Regions from separate parts of the Homo sapiens genome. Here region 2 is linked to region 1. Evidence: promoter capture Hi-C in 16 types of primary human blood cells and fetal thymus (Javierre and others, 2016). All regions are on one chromosome and are shown on one strand. Each heading gives the region's core, a stretch centred on a gene start or on the middle of the fragment in contact. The rest is flanking DNA. Distances are from core to core; before and after follow the strand shown.

What was found. Contacts are between HindIII fragments. The CHiCAGO score rates a contact against its expected background, and 5 or more counts as called.
Region 2: the fragment with the promoter of SCN3B here is called in contact with the fragment with the promoter of OR8D2 in region 1 in 2 of 17 cell types (erythroblasts and total B cells); the score reaches 9.0 in erythroblasts.

Annotation. Positions count from the first base shown.
Region 1 is chr11:124,316,816-124,323,914 of GRCh38, forward strand. It overlaps OR8D2 (olfactory receptor family 8 subfamily D member 2), which reads right to left and starts at 3,382. Exons shown (of 1, transcript NM_001002918.1): 1 at 2,447-3,382. The coding sequence starts at 3,382. The coding sequence ends at 2,447. LOC112268069 (a long non-coding RNA gene) reads left to right here. Exons shown (of 3, transcript XR_002957213.2): 2 at 1,511-1,591; 3 at 6,009-6,409. The HindIII fragment of the contact is 6,670 bases long and covers 1-6,451 here.
Region 2 is chr11:123,651,381-123,658,479 of GRCh38, forward strand. SCN3B (sodium voltage-gated channel beta subunit 3) reads right to left here and starts at 3,244. Exons shown (of 7, transcript NM_001040151.2): 1 at 2,846-3,244; 2 at 2,367-2,446. The coding sequence starts at 2,421. LOC105369543 (a long non-coding RNA gene) reads left to right here and starts at 2,305. Exons shown (of 3, transcript XR_948124.4): 1 at 2,305-2,772. RefSeq lists silencers at 2,628-2,697, 3,258-3,487. The HindIII fragment of the contact is 2,104 bases long and covers 1,992-4,095 here.

The DNA.
Region 1 (7,099 bases), core at 2,132-4,631:
TTTGCGTATGGATATTCAGTTTTCCAGCATCAAGTATTGAACAGACAATCCTTTCCCCAATGTATGTTGGCTCTTTTGTCAAAAATGAGAATATGTATGGATTTGTTTCTGAGTTCTCTATTCTGTTCCATTGGTCTTTGTGTCTGCTTTTATACAAGTACCATGCTCTTTTGATTACTATAGCTTGTTGTATAATTTGATTCCTCCAGTTTGGGAGGTAATGTGGTTCCTCTAGTTTTGTTCTGCTCAGGATAGCTTTGGCTATTCTATATCTTTTGTGGTTCCACATACATTTTAGGATTGTTGTTTCATTTCTGTGAAAAAATGCCAGTGATATTTTGATAGGGATTGCACTGAATTGGTAGATTGAGTGCAATGGGTAGTATGAACATTTTAACAATATTGATTTTTCCAGTCCGTGAACTTGGAATAACTTTTTATTTGTGTGTGTGTGTGTGTGTGTGTGTGTGTGTGTGTGTGTGTGTTCTCTTTCTTTCATCGATGTTTTATAATTTTCATTGTAGAGATATTTCACTTCTTTGGTTAATTTCTAGGTATTTTATTTGAGTTGTAGGTATTGTAAATAGGATTACTTCTTAAATTTCTTTTTCAGATTGCTCACTGTTGGCATGTAGAAATGCTACTGATTTTGTATGTCAACTTTATATCTTGCAACTTTACTGAGTTTGTTCAGTAGTACAAAATGAATTTAAACTTTTCTGAACAATTTGAACTTCTCTGAAAAGTTCAAAAAGTCCAGAAAAAAAGTTCAAATTGAATTTGAACTTTTCCAAATCAGTTCTAATAGTTTTTTTTGGTGGCATCTTTAGGCTTTTCTAAACATAAGATCATGTCATCTGCAAGCAACGATAACTTGACTTCTTCCTTTCTAATTTGGATGCCCTTTCTTTCTCTTGTCTGATTGCTCTAGTTAGGACTTCCAAACAATTAGTTCTGATTTATGGGAACTTGTAAAGTGGAAGAAAAAGAGAAAGGGAATAAAAGAGATTATAGGAAAGGGGGAGTAGGCATGTTCAGATAGTGGAAAGGATAAAAAGAGATGGAATAGAAAGTATCAGAAGGTGATGAAATGAATGGATCATAAAACCTCAGTGTTAGCAATGAACAAAGGGATCAGTTTGGTCATATTCTTAGCCAGCATTTGATTCTTCTCAGAAATATTCCAGACAGAATGGTTGAATATTCTGTCTGGAATATGTACTTAAATCCCTACTGCTGGATAGTTCATAAATTCCCAAGATAGCTAATTATTTTTTGATAGTTCTGATTTTTGGAAGAGTCTTCTTTAGCCTACTTGTGCTCTGTGGCAAGAACTACTAAAACCTCAATAACTAGCCTACAGCCCTTCTGTGTGTAACTCCTATGTGTAACTTAATTATCCTCTAATATCTGTGAGCAATTTCTATCCTCTTGGCTTTATTTTCTAAGACATTTTATGATCTGAGATTCTATGATGTATTTTTCTCCCTGTTTATTGCCTTTCTTTCAGGCTAAAACCTAAATCTAATGAAGGCAAGGAGTTTGTGACTTTTGTTCATCTCTTTATCACCAGTATGAGGAATAGTGACAGGTATGTAGTGGGCATTCAATGAGTATTCCTTAAATGAATGACCCAAAGAATAAACAAATCAATGAATGTGTGATTTCAAGTTGCTTCATCATGGCCATGCGTCTCAGAATATATTTCAGAATGCCAGTGGCCTCTTAAATAGTAATATCAACAAAGTAAATTACTTTCAAGTGGACACAGTCTAATTGCTGTTGTGCAAGTGATAACTAGAATGTTCCTCATTCTAAATACTAAAATGTAGCTAATGCAGACAAGGTAACAGTAACTTTCTAGGTAGTTATGCTTTTTACTTATATTGTCAAAAATCCTTAATTCTCTGGAGTTAAATAAAGTTTTTCCCACTCTCTCCATTTTTATAGAAGTATAGAATCTTATATTACCCATGTACATTTTTAAAATCTCATTAAATGCGACTATCACTCCAGCCTTTAAAAGTCTTTGTGAATCATGCTCTGTCATCCATTAAATCAACTATTTCAAGGCTGAGGATCGTGACTCAGGCTTCTAATTCCAGCACATTGGGAGGCCAAGTTTGGAGGATTACTTGAGGCCAGAAGTTCAAGACCAGCCTGGGCTTTCAAAAGTAATATGTTCAATAAATTGTTTTTAATGTTTATTTGCCCTTCCTCTTCTGTCATCTCCCATTTCTCTAATACATTTTCGAAGATTATATTGACCATCAGAAAATTTTGTTTCATAATCTCCAAAAATGTCTTAATCATTCTCTAATATAAAATATACATTTTTAAGTGATGATAATTTTTCTCTCTCCGAGAGAGACAGAAACTTACAAAGATCCTATAACAACTTTTTATATGGTTTATTTTTTCTGGCTGCCAATGAGAACCCTCTTTGTCAGGATGACTGCCTTCCCCTAGTCATCTTCTTCAGTGCATTTTTCACATCCTTGTTCCTCAGGCTATAGATTAGAGGATTCAGCATGGGGATTATTGTGATGTAGAACACAGAAGACACCTTCTCTTTTTCCATAGTAGTGCTGGAAGGGGGCTTGAAATACATGAATGTTATAGACCCAAAAAAGATGCCCACAGCCAAGAGATGGGAGCTACAAGTGCCAAAGGCTTTGGATTGCCCCTCAGTGGAATGAATACCAAGGATACTAGAGAAAATGAAAGCATAAGAGATAAGGACCGCCAGTGTAGTTGCTAAGGTATTAACTCCTCCAATAATGAACAGCAGAATCTCATTGATGTGGGTGCTGGAGCAAGACAGAGTCAATAAGGGGAGAATATCACAAAAATAATGACTGACCGTATGAGACCTACAGAATGACAACACTGACATGCGGGTAGTATGGACTGTGGCCCACAGAAAACCCAGTGAGTATACCACAGCCATCATTATGGAACAGACCCTGTGGGACATGACAATATTGTAAAGCAGTGGGCGACAGATAGCAACATAACGGTCATATTCCATGGCTGTCAGAAGGTAGCCTTCTGCAATTACAAAAATAAGGAAGAAATAAAGTTGAGTAATGCATTCCAGAAAGGAGATAATGTTCTCCTCTGGAACAAAGTTCACCAGCATCTTAGGGGTAATGACAGAGGAGTAGCAGAGATCAATGAAAGACAAATGACTGAGAAAATAATACACTGGAGGGTAAAGTTGAGAACTGAGAGCAATTAAGAAGATCATGCCCAGGTTCCCCACCACTGTGACCACATATATTCCAAGGAACAGGAGGAAGAGTGGCAGTTGAAGTTCTGGGCGTTGTGTCAAGCCTGCCAGGATAAACTCAGCCCCTGAAGAATGGTTTGAAGTAGCCATGTCTTTTAAGGTATTATGTGTAATAAGAAATAAGAGAAAAGAGAGACATTAGATTTATTTTCTGATTCCCAAAGCAGAATGACATGCCCCATGTTGGTTGCTTCCATTCCTGAGAGCCTCATCTGTCCCATGATTGCCTCTTTTCAGGGACCTCTTACAAGATCAAGGGCAAATATTATGAGTATAACCAAGAACCTTGATTTCACCCAAAACCCTGTTGAATGCTCCTCTTTTAGTAAGAGTCCTCCCATTTTGTTTCCAGGCTTATGCCCATAATTACCTCACTGCTGGAGGAAGCACAAACTTTCCAAATCTAATTAGTTTGTCATTGCTACCATTAAAACAACACTGCTTACCTTCTTTATCTGAGCATATGCCAATAGAACCTTCAGACTTTGTTACAACATGGCTTCTAATCCAGCTCTGATGATATAAAAGTAGTCCATTTCAGTTTCCTTACCCATCAACATGAATCAACATAATTAGCATTTGCTAAAACTAGGAAATAAGAAACATAAAAGACGTCTATAAAGAGACCTTAGTACAAAAAAAAAAAGTATGGAAATGGTTCTAATCAATTCTGACCCTCATTAGCTCACTTCTGTTCTTTGAATGGAAAACTTGAGTGGGCCAGGAGATTCTTGTACTCAGTGTGGATGTGGTTGACAGAAATGTTGTGCCAAGGGCTATCCTGAGATTCTAGTTTAGATCTTTCCTGTTCCAGAAACAGCAAAGAAGCAAAGAAGTAAGGCTGACTTTCAGGTGTAAGACCTGAACCATCAGCAACTCAGCGCTTCCCTCCTTGGCCCTTTCCTGCTATCCATTATTCATGGCCAAACTCTCACTGACCTTTCTCTTTCAAAGCTGTGAGATCTGAACTGGAGATTTCTTATTCCCTGACTTCGTTTCCCCTAAAGTTTAAGCAAAGGATTCAGGGTGTGTTGCTTTCAGCTGAAACACTGTATATTACCTAAGACATCAGGTTTCATAATTTTTTTCCAAAGTGAGAAAAAATGTCAAGGGAGGAAAAACTCCATACATAGAGTGAGATGTTGTTTGCTTTTATTTTGCATAAAAACATATTTTTATGATCACAAACAAAAATTTATAAAAATTTGCTTCTACAGTGTTTTAAGGGTACTCAATATGTATATCGATTTAAAAGCTGACAGGTGGGGTGTTATCTCCAAGAGCACTTGAGAAGACAGCCATGTTTCTGAATTAGGGGAATTAGAGAATACTCTAAGAGAAAGAGAATCAGAGTTACCAGAATGCAACTCTAACAAGCCCTGTTACGGGAAGTTCAGGAATTCTAGATTTTTAGCCTTACTTGGAAAAATATTCTACCAAATGACTGAATTAGCCAAAAAGAGAATTTGTTGAAGAAAAATAGCAGAGAGCTTATTTAGAGAGAGACAGTACACTCTGGAAAGGTGAGACAGAGCTGGCTGCTGAAGGGGAGTGAGCCAGCAGCAGCTTGAGAGTTCTGCACTGGGTTTTTGAGATGATGTCCGACACTTTCTTGAAGTTCCCACCTCTGTCGTGAGCCTCTGCCTTTTCCTTTGTCCAGGTTCCTGCTTCTGCCTTAAGTCCCCTTCTCTTCCCTGCCTAGTTCCCATGCCAGGCTTGTGGAACCCTCCCTTACTATTGGCTGATGTGCATGCATGGACCCTGTGTTGGATATGAATCCTGCCTAACAGCCGCATTGCCACCCAAGGGAGGCTGCTTAATAATAGGTCTAGTGATTGAAGCACATTCTTTCCTATATCCGTAACATTTCTATATTGATATATTCCCAAATTATTTTCATCACAGAACTATCACAAATAATGCCTAGAGTATTTCTTTTAGAAAAGACTATCTCAATAAAGTAGAAAGGTTAAGAATTTAAAATTACGTGCTATGGAATGAGAACTTTACCCTCTTTATTACTCATTAAGCTAAGCATAATGATATATAACATACTACTTTTTTTACTTTAAATTCTGGTGTACATGTGCAGAACGTGCAGGTTTGCTACATAGGTATGCATGTGCCATGGTGGTTTGCTGCACCCCAAATGCATTAGGTTTTAAGCCCCAAATGCATTAGCTGTTTGTCCTGATGCTCTCCCTCTACAAATTTATACCATGAGATTGTATTTATACTTTCTTCTCCCACAGACATCAAGAGTAATGACTACATTTATCATCTGGTGTGGTAAAGACAATCATCTCTTCCTTGCTATGATCTGAATTACTCTAAGTTTTTTAAAAGTGTTACCCTACCTCTGCCGATTCTCCTTTCTGTGAGCCATCTGTACTAGGAAGTTGTTCCCACATACTGAGGCCTTATTCTCAATCTTGTTCATGGATTAGTTTACTGTTCACTTGAGTATAGCTGTAATCAAAGTTTTATAACCTTATTGTATTGTGAAATTTAGCTTAAATACATATATAAAAATGTAGAAAATATATATACTTCCACCTACTATAAAATGAGCAGCTTTAACCACCATGCAGATCTATAAATAGAATATCACCAGCACCCCAGAGCCCTCTATGTGCCCCCTTTTTATTGTAGCTCCATCCATCCTTCCATTCTCTATCCTGATTCTATTGCAATCACTCTCTGGTTTTCGTTATAGCTTCATCACCTAAGTGTGGCTTCATTGGTTATCTGCATCTAGCCCAGAAAAGGGCAAAGAGAAAGTTAAAAGGGAACAATGTAGCCCTGGAATAGCATCCATCATCTCTAAAATAGTCACATGCCACACGGCACTGCAGGAGACACTGGGAAATGTGTGTTCTGGAAGAACAGTGAACAGCAACAATCTCTGACACACTGGGCTAATCATATTGGTGCCTACCAATTATCAATGGTTGGTTATGTGTCTTTTTGAGTCTTGACTTGATGACATTTTGCTGGCTCCTTTCTTTCCCATACCCCTACTTCTATTTTACAGAATGAGGTGTTGCCCCATTCTAGAATGGCAAATAAAAGCCAATTAGAGCTTTAAATCAAATGTGTTATAATTTTATCTTTTGACAAAACTAATGTACATTCACTGTGGATTATGTGTTTAATCAAAGCTTAATGGATAATGCAGAATAATTACAGTACTTTACAGAATGGCATACAAATTCGGAATAAAATGCAGTTTCTAAAACTTCTTTGACCATTTCCCACAGAGGGACCTTGCATTTATTGGCCATGTGTCTTCTTGGGTATTAACTTAATGACATTTTGCTGACTCCTTCCTCTCCCACGCCCCTACTCTCTAAATTACTAGTACTTACACATTCAAAATTCTCCTTTTTAAAAAATTTGGCTGAAAAGTCTCCCCTCTGTTTAACCCACTCACCTTTCAACTATACCAGCTCAACAGGCCTCCTCTTTCCCAACAAAAAGAACCTTCAAATGATTTTCCTAAACATACACACAAGATAAATGGAAAAACAATACCCTACCTGAGAAAAAGTCATGTTTCATTTCAGAACTAAGCAGTCAACATTCAAAATAGCAATTTTTTTATATATTGTACTTGCTGAAATAAAATAATAGAATGAAGTAGAAGCAAAGTAAACTAGAAAGAGTAGTCAATTTAAAATCAGAAGGCTAATAGCTTATTCTAAGTTTTTTCATTAAGAAGCTGGGTGACTATAAGTAAATCAATAACCACTCTGAGCCTCCCTTTCCTGACCATGCAATAAACACATATTGAACATCTGTTATATG
Region 2 (7,099 bases), core at 1,994-4,493, 670 kb before region 1:
TTTGATGGAGTCTCGCCCTGTTGCCCACGCTGGAGTGCAGTGGCACAATCTTGGCTCACTGCAACCTCCACCTCCCAGGTTCAAGCAATCCTCCTGCCTCAGTCCCCCTAGTAGCTGGGATTATAGGCACGCACCACTATGCCCGACTAATTTTTGTATTTTTAGCAGAGATGGGGTTTCGCCGTGTTGGCCAGGCTGGTCTTGAACTCCTGACCTCAGGTGATCCACCCGCCTCGGCCTCCCAAATTGTTGGGATTACAGGCGTGAGCCACTGCGCCTGGCGAAGGGAAGCTGTTTTTCTTACAGTTAACAACCAAGTGTCCTGAACCACTTCTCTTTCCCTTCCACAGCTTTTCAGTTTGGTGAGACAACACTCAGTTTGCAAAGAAACTGAGAATGGGCAAAGATGGGCATACTGTGTACACTTCTTCCAAAGTTTTTTGGGGTCGGGGAGGGGATGGGCACTCTGTCAATTCTAGCAATATTCTTCAAAGATTTCTCTACCATTCATCTGTGGAGCTGAAAAGGATGTTAGATATCACCCGTGCCAACTTCCAAACATTACACAGAAGGAACCAGATAGCACTTTAAGGTTGTTATATAGTAAGCTAGTGGCAAAGCTGAGACTCCAATGCAGGTTGCACAAGTTCTAGTTAAAAGATTCTTGGATGATAGCATGTTCTCTCCCTCCACTGGAATTCAGGCAGGGATCTCAAAATCTTAGATTAGAGTTCAGGAAGAAAGTCTCTGCAGAGTCTCACTCCAACCCTTATCCACAACTTCAGCTTTACCGACGCTCTTTTTATCTGGCCAGGCTAACATCTTCTAAGCCTCGTGTCCTCAGCCTTAGCCTCCCCTGAGAAAATTTCAGCCTTAATCTTCAAGGCAGGTGAGATCATTGGCAACATATTATAGCTGCTCCATCTCCAGGTCTGGTCTACTCTACTGGGGATGGCTGGTGATGAGTCCGCCTTTGGGGCTGACATTACCTCCCTCCTCAACCTTCCTAGTCCGTCTCATCAGGCATTTTGACAGGAAGCTTGGCTCTGCCTCTGGTCACATGCAAAATCCAGATAATGCTGGCAGCTAGAGTTAGTCCTGGAGGCTTGAAAAAGTAATACTAAAGCAAAGAGGCAGCTCCCATCAGCATGTCTGCCACCGTATAGGCAGGATGAGTTTCATGCCAACCATGGGAACATAAGCTCACATGCCTCGTTTCAGGGAGGCAGGTGGGTACAATTGTGTCCAATTACCCTGTGTATTGATTTTTGCACGGAGAAAGGTAGCTAAGATCATGTAAAGCAATCTGTCTGCTGAAGAGAACCTATATTTTATCTGAGGATCTAATCATAGACACCAAGGCAGACATGCCCAGAACTACCACCCCCACCCCTGCCATACACATACTACTACACTCACCCATGCATTCAGATGTCTATGCCAACATGCTCACACACATGCTAGTGCACACATCCAGACACTGAAATATATTTACATACAGTAAAACATTGTCTCAATCACACAATCAGACATTATCACATAGATCAATCCCCTTTACACACATTCAGGCACTCCAAGACCGTCTCTGACACTCTCTTCAGCCTTTACTGTTCCAAGTGTAAGATTCCCTTATTTGGAGGGGGAAGGTCACCTCAGTTTCTCACAGCTGACAAGCAAGAATCTATTCACCTTTGAAGGCAAAAACCCAGCTCTCCTCCCCTAACACCAAAGCATCTTAGTTCCACAGGTTCATGCAACAAACAAACAAACCAAAAAAAAAAGAAGAAGAAGAAAAAGAAAGATGCATTTCACAGTTGCCTATTTATTTAATATATAGCAGTAAATGGCTGAAGGCTGTTTTCTTCCCATTCCTTGTTAAAATTAAGAAGATGATGAGCAACTAAAGTATTTTCACTCTCAAAATTCATGCATCCAGCTTTTATGGTTTTTTTTTTTTTTTAATATACAGAAACGAATTTGAAGACCCAGTAAGCTTTCCAGGAGTATAGACTCCTTGATGAGAAATAAAATGTAACCACACAGGAGGTTTTTATTCGTGAACGTGACTGCATTTCCTTTCAGCAAAGGGAAAGGGAAAAAATACTTTGGAATGATCAGGAAACTGGAGGAAGGGCGGAAGAACCACCAAAGGAGGTTGGAGAATAGCGGGGAAGGGCGGTGGGGAGGCGCCTTTCCCATCTCAAAATCCCAGCTCTCATGGAACCCCTGCCATCTCCATGTCTGGCAGATACGCACAGAGGCAAGCCAGCCAGAGCTCTTTTCTGTCACCAACGACATCAATGTGTTATTATTGTTAGCATTGTTACTGTTACCTGCATCCGGCATGGCGAGGTGCTGGTACTTACCCCAGTAGATAAGCACGAGAGAAGCCAGGGGAAACAATCTATTGAAGGCAGGCATCTTCTGGGGCTGGCGGCTTCCAAGGCTACACAGAGAGATTCCCTCGGTCAAGGACTGCGCCCTCTCAGATTCTTTCGAGGAAACCCTTTGGGACGAACTGCCCCCAGGGGGCGACTTTCTGACCGAAGGAAGGGCCGAGCACCGGTGCCTGGGGAGGCCCTGGGAGCTTTTGGAGCCGGGTGGGGGCTTTGGGCCCTAAGCGACCCCACTGGACCTCCCCAGTTCGAGGGAGCCGATCAGCCGCTCCGCGCCCGCTCTCGCCGGCGCTCAGCACCACGGACAGTCGCCTCCCCGCCCACCCCGGAACTCCAGCTTCCACTCGCGCCCCTGCCTCGCTCGTTTGCGCCCAGGGTAAGCTCAGCTCGGAAGGGAGTCGCACTGCTGGCCTAGCAGCCAGGCTGTGGAAGGGTCCAGGTTGATTCACCTCTCGCCTCCCCAGGATCGGTTGCGTTCCGACTGGAATCCTCCCAGCCCCGCGGCTCCTGCTTCGTCCGCCCTAACTGCTTCTCCAGCTGGGCGTGACCCCACTCCCGAAGCCGCCGGGGCCGCCCGTCTGGGCTACAGAATGCGTTCCACGTCGGTCCCGTCCACGCCCGCCCTCGGCTCCCTGGGGAGGTGCAGCGGGGCCGGGAAGGAAGCGGCAGCTCCCGTTCGGCCGGCGATGTCAGAGGTTGGGGGGTGGGTGTAGAGGCGGAGCCCCTTCCCGGGAGCTCGCCCCCGGATGGTGCGGGGCCCCGACCCTGGGTGGCAGGTGATCAGCAACCCTTCTCTAGGCCCCCAGGCCGTGTGTGCTGTCAGCCCTGACATGCGCAGGCGGCTCTCCGCCACCACCACCGCCCCGGACCCTCCCCCTAGTGCACACTCCCCACCCCCTGATGGGCGTGCCCCTCCCAGGCCCAGCGCCGCGCCGAGCGGGGGCGGAGCCGGGAGCGGCGCAGACACTTCCAGCCGGGATATCTTTGCTCGCGCGCTCGCTGGTCTCTCCAGGTCTCCCTCTCGCGCCTCCGCACCTCCCCCGAGCTCGGGCGCACCGCCGCCCTCGGCTCACGCCCTCCAGGCAAACCCACTCCGCTCCCGCACGGACTTGCCGGGTGTAGCTCCGGGAAGAGAAGGGCCAGAGCTCTTTCAGGCAATGATGTCATCTGCAAGGCGCGCCGTACGCGGTTCCTGGCTTCGCCTCCCAGACCCCATGCCTTCCAGTTCTCGCTGTCTATCCTTTGTCTAGCCTTGATTAATTGGCCCCGGACACAGCAAACTCAGCAAGATAATCCCTGTTTAGGGCAAATGGGGTAGGGATGAGGCGCACCTGTTCCTGTCTTCACCTCATCACTCAGTGAGGTGATCCAAATGTCAGCGCAAGGGGAGGGGGGCCCAAGAGGACTCCTCTTCCCTTCCCCAGGTTCTTTGCAGTTCTCCCTTTTCCTTTAATTACTCCTTTTTAATAAAGCAGATAGATTGTGTTTGGCGTCTTCCAACTATTAGCCACTCCCTAGTCCTAGCAGCTGTTTGAGTGCCCCCGCCCCATCTCTGGAAGGGAAACCTGAAACTTTACATTCAACTATAAACTCAAATTGACATAACAGATTAGGAACGCCTGGAACTGAAGTAAAAGAGTAATCCAAGAGCCCTTCTTCAGCTTCCTTTTTCTCCTCTTCTGCTCTTTCCAAAAGGGGAAGCTTAACGCTGATATTCCAAAATGGAATAACAGAGCAACAGCTGACGGTGAGTGGACCAGAAGCAGGAAATGCTCCCTCCTGACATCTCACAGAGTAACAGAATGTCCCCAGTCGGATCTTCCTGGGCAGGGAGCCACCAGGCCATAAACTCTGTGCTGTTTGGAGGACTAGGCCTTGAAGCATGTATACTGTGTTAAATTTGGATGGGAAGTTAAAGTTGACCTAATTCAACCGCTTTTCCAATTTGTGACTTCCCCCAAGAACATTTCGGACGAATGGACTTGATTTTATTTATTTATTTATTTATTTATTTATTTATTTATTTATTGAGACGGGGTTTTGCTCTTCTTGCCCAGGCTGGAGTGCAATGGCGCGATCTTGGCTCACCGCAACCTCCGTCCCCCGGGTTCAAGTGATTCTCCTGTCTCAGCCTCCTGAGTAGCTGGGATTACAGGCATACGCTGCTACACCCGGCTAATTTTGTATTTTTAGTAGAGATGGGGTTTCTCCATGTTGGTCAGGATGGTCTCAAACTCACAACCTCAGGAGATCCACCCGCCTCGGCCTCCCAAAGTGCTGGGATTACAGGCATGAGCCACCGCGCCTGGCCTTGATCTTTTTAGTGATGAGAACTTTCTACATCACAAGTTCACCTCTTCTGATGCTTAAGGAAGTTCTTTATGTTCAGTTGAATTCCGTACACTCCTCCTCCCCCTCCAAACTCCATTAAGTGGCCCTAATGCTGTTTTCTCTTTAAAAGAGCTATGCTTCCTCACATCCGCCCTAAGACATTTTTGTTTGTGGCTACTCTTCCTTAGTTTCTTCCAATGTATTTTCTAGTAGTTTCCAATCCTGTACCACCCTGGCTGCTTTTTCAGAAGGACTTTCAGTTTCTCAGCATGATTCTCCAAGTGACGTCCAGAACAGGAACTGATGGTCCCTGTGTGGTCTGACCAGCATAAATCCAGTGGAATTATGGCTACATTTGCTTTGAAGGATATAACTAGTTAAATACATTTACAGCCACATCTTAGTCATAATCAGCTTATGTTCAATTAAAATCCCTGAGTATTCTTCACTTGACTTGTTGCAGAGTCATTGTGTCTTGTACAGGCAATTTTGGAAATTTTATTATGAAACTTTGCACTTATTGCTGTTAAAATTTATTAGTTTCAACCAGTTATCACACTGTGTTAATACTTTTATTGAATTCAGATTCAATCACCCAATATATCTCTCTTCTTTACCCTTGTTTCATCTCTAGGCTTGACAATCACATGATCCACACATGGATATTTAAAAAAAGAACCAATAGAAAAAAAGAAGAGATAGTCCTATGGCCTGCTTCTAAAGACCTCATTCTACCTTGACAATGAGCTACTAATTAACATTTTTGTTTGTTTGTTTGTTTTTTGAGACGGAGTTTCACTCTTGTTGCCCACGCTGGAGTGCAGTAGTGTGACCTCGGCTCGCTGAAACCTCCACCTCCCAGGTTCAAGCAATCATTCCGCCTCAGCCTCCCAAGTAGCTGGGATTACAGGTGCCCACTACCACACCCAGCTAATTTTTGAATTTTTAGTAGAGAGGGGGTTTCACCGTGTTGGCCAGGCTGATCTCAAACTCCTGACCTCAGGTGATCTGCCCGCCTTGGCCTCCCAAAGCACTGGGATTACAGGCATGAGCCACTGCACCTGGCCTAATTAAAATTCTTTAGAACAGTTGCTCAATCATAAAACCCAAACATAGCTCCCTATTTTTTATATGTACAGCATGAGACATTCTGAAAATTTAGAATAAAAGGAATCTGTGAGAGGAATTAGACATCTAGTCATCCACAGGAAAGAAATAGGATCAATGGCTTACACTAACACAAAAACAGATTTTCAGCAATACATTTCAAACCTTTCCAAAGTAGGACAAATTACCTTTCGTTACATCCAAGCAGTTGTTATCCAAACAACTGCTGGGATGTTTAGGAAGGAAAACCTGTAAAGGTTAGAAATTTGGAATAGATTATGTTAAAGTTCCTATCGTCTTTGAGGTTCTATGACTTTATTGAAAGCCTTACCAAGACTGAAATACACAGACAGACTGAAATATTTTCAGTCTGATAATTTTATCAACTACCACAGCAGGAATTGGCTCAGCTTTACAAAATTTTTCTTATGTCTATTCATGTGAATTGCTAATATTCATAATGTTGTTTTCTAATTGTTTATCAACCCCATTGTAAATAGTCACTGTCAGGATTTCACCTCTATTTTTCATATACCACTTCTTCCCTCTCCTGTATTGAAAATAGGAGCATTTAGTCTTTTCATTCTCCTGCTGTTTCCCTTGATTTTTGGCTGTCACTCTCAGTCACTTTTGCAAGTACCTTAAGTTCCCTGAAGTACTCTTGGCCTTGTTCTGAGAGTTTTAAAATCATTTAAATTAAGCTCTCCCTTCCTCTTTTCTGCCATTTTGGCTTCAATCCTTTCTCATTGTTGTTGACTTGGCCTCCCAATTTAATAATCATTCTCCCTTCACAGTTAATGGGTGAAACCATATGCTCTATTCTCCAAAGAGTAGACAGAACAGTCTTTGTATTCTAAAAGATGGGAACTTCTCTTGCTTAAAGCCCTTCCATGGCATCTCACTACACTGAAATAAAATCTAGACTTGTCACCATGGCCTAATGTTGGCCTTGTGCCCTGGCTATCTCTCCACACTCATTTCTACCACTCTCTGTCTTGTCCACCATGTTCCAATTACACTTAATTTTAAAGAAATGTACCTCATAGTTATCAAACTCTTCCCCACTATTAATATTTCCCATCATTATTATTATAGCCTTAGCATTTGATGTCCCCTCTTCCTGGAACATTCTTCATTCTATGGCTGGTTTCTTGTCATTTTGGTCTTGCCTCAAATGACTTCACCCTAGAGTGACATTCCCTGGTCACTCTAAGCTTGTTTCCTGCTACCTTCCTCACCTGAAGCTACTCTCTATCTCATCACCC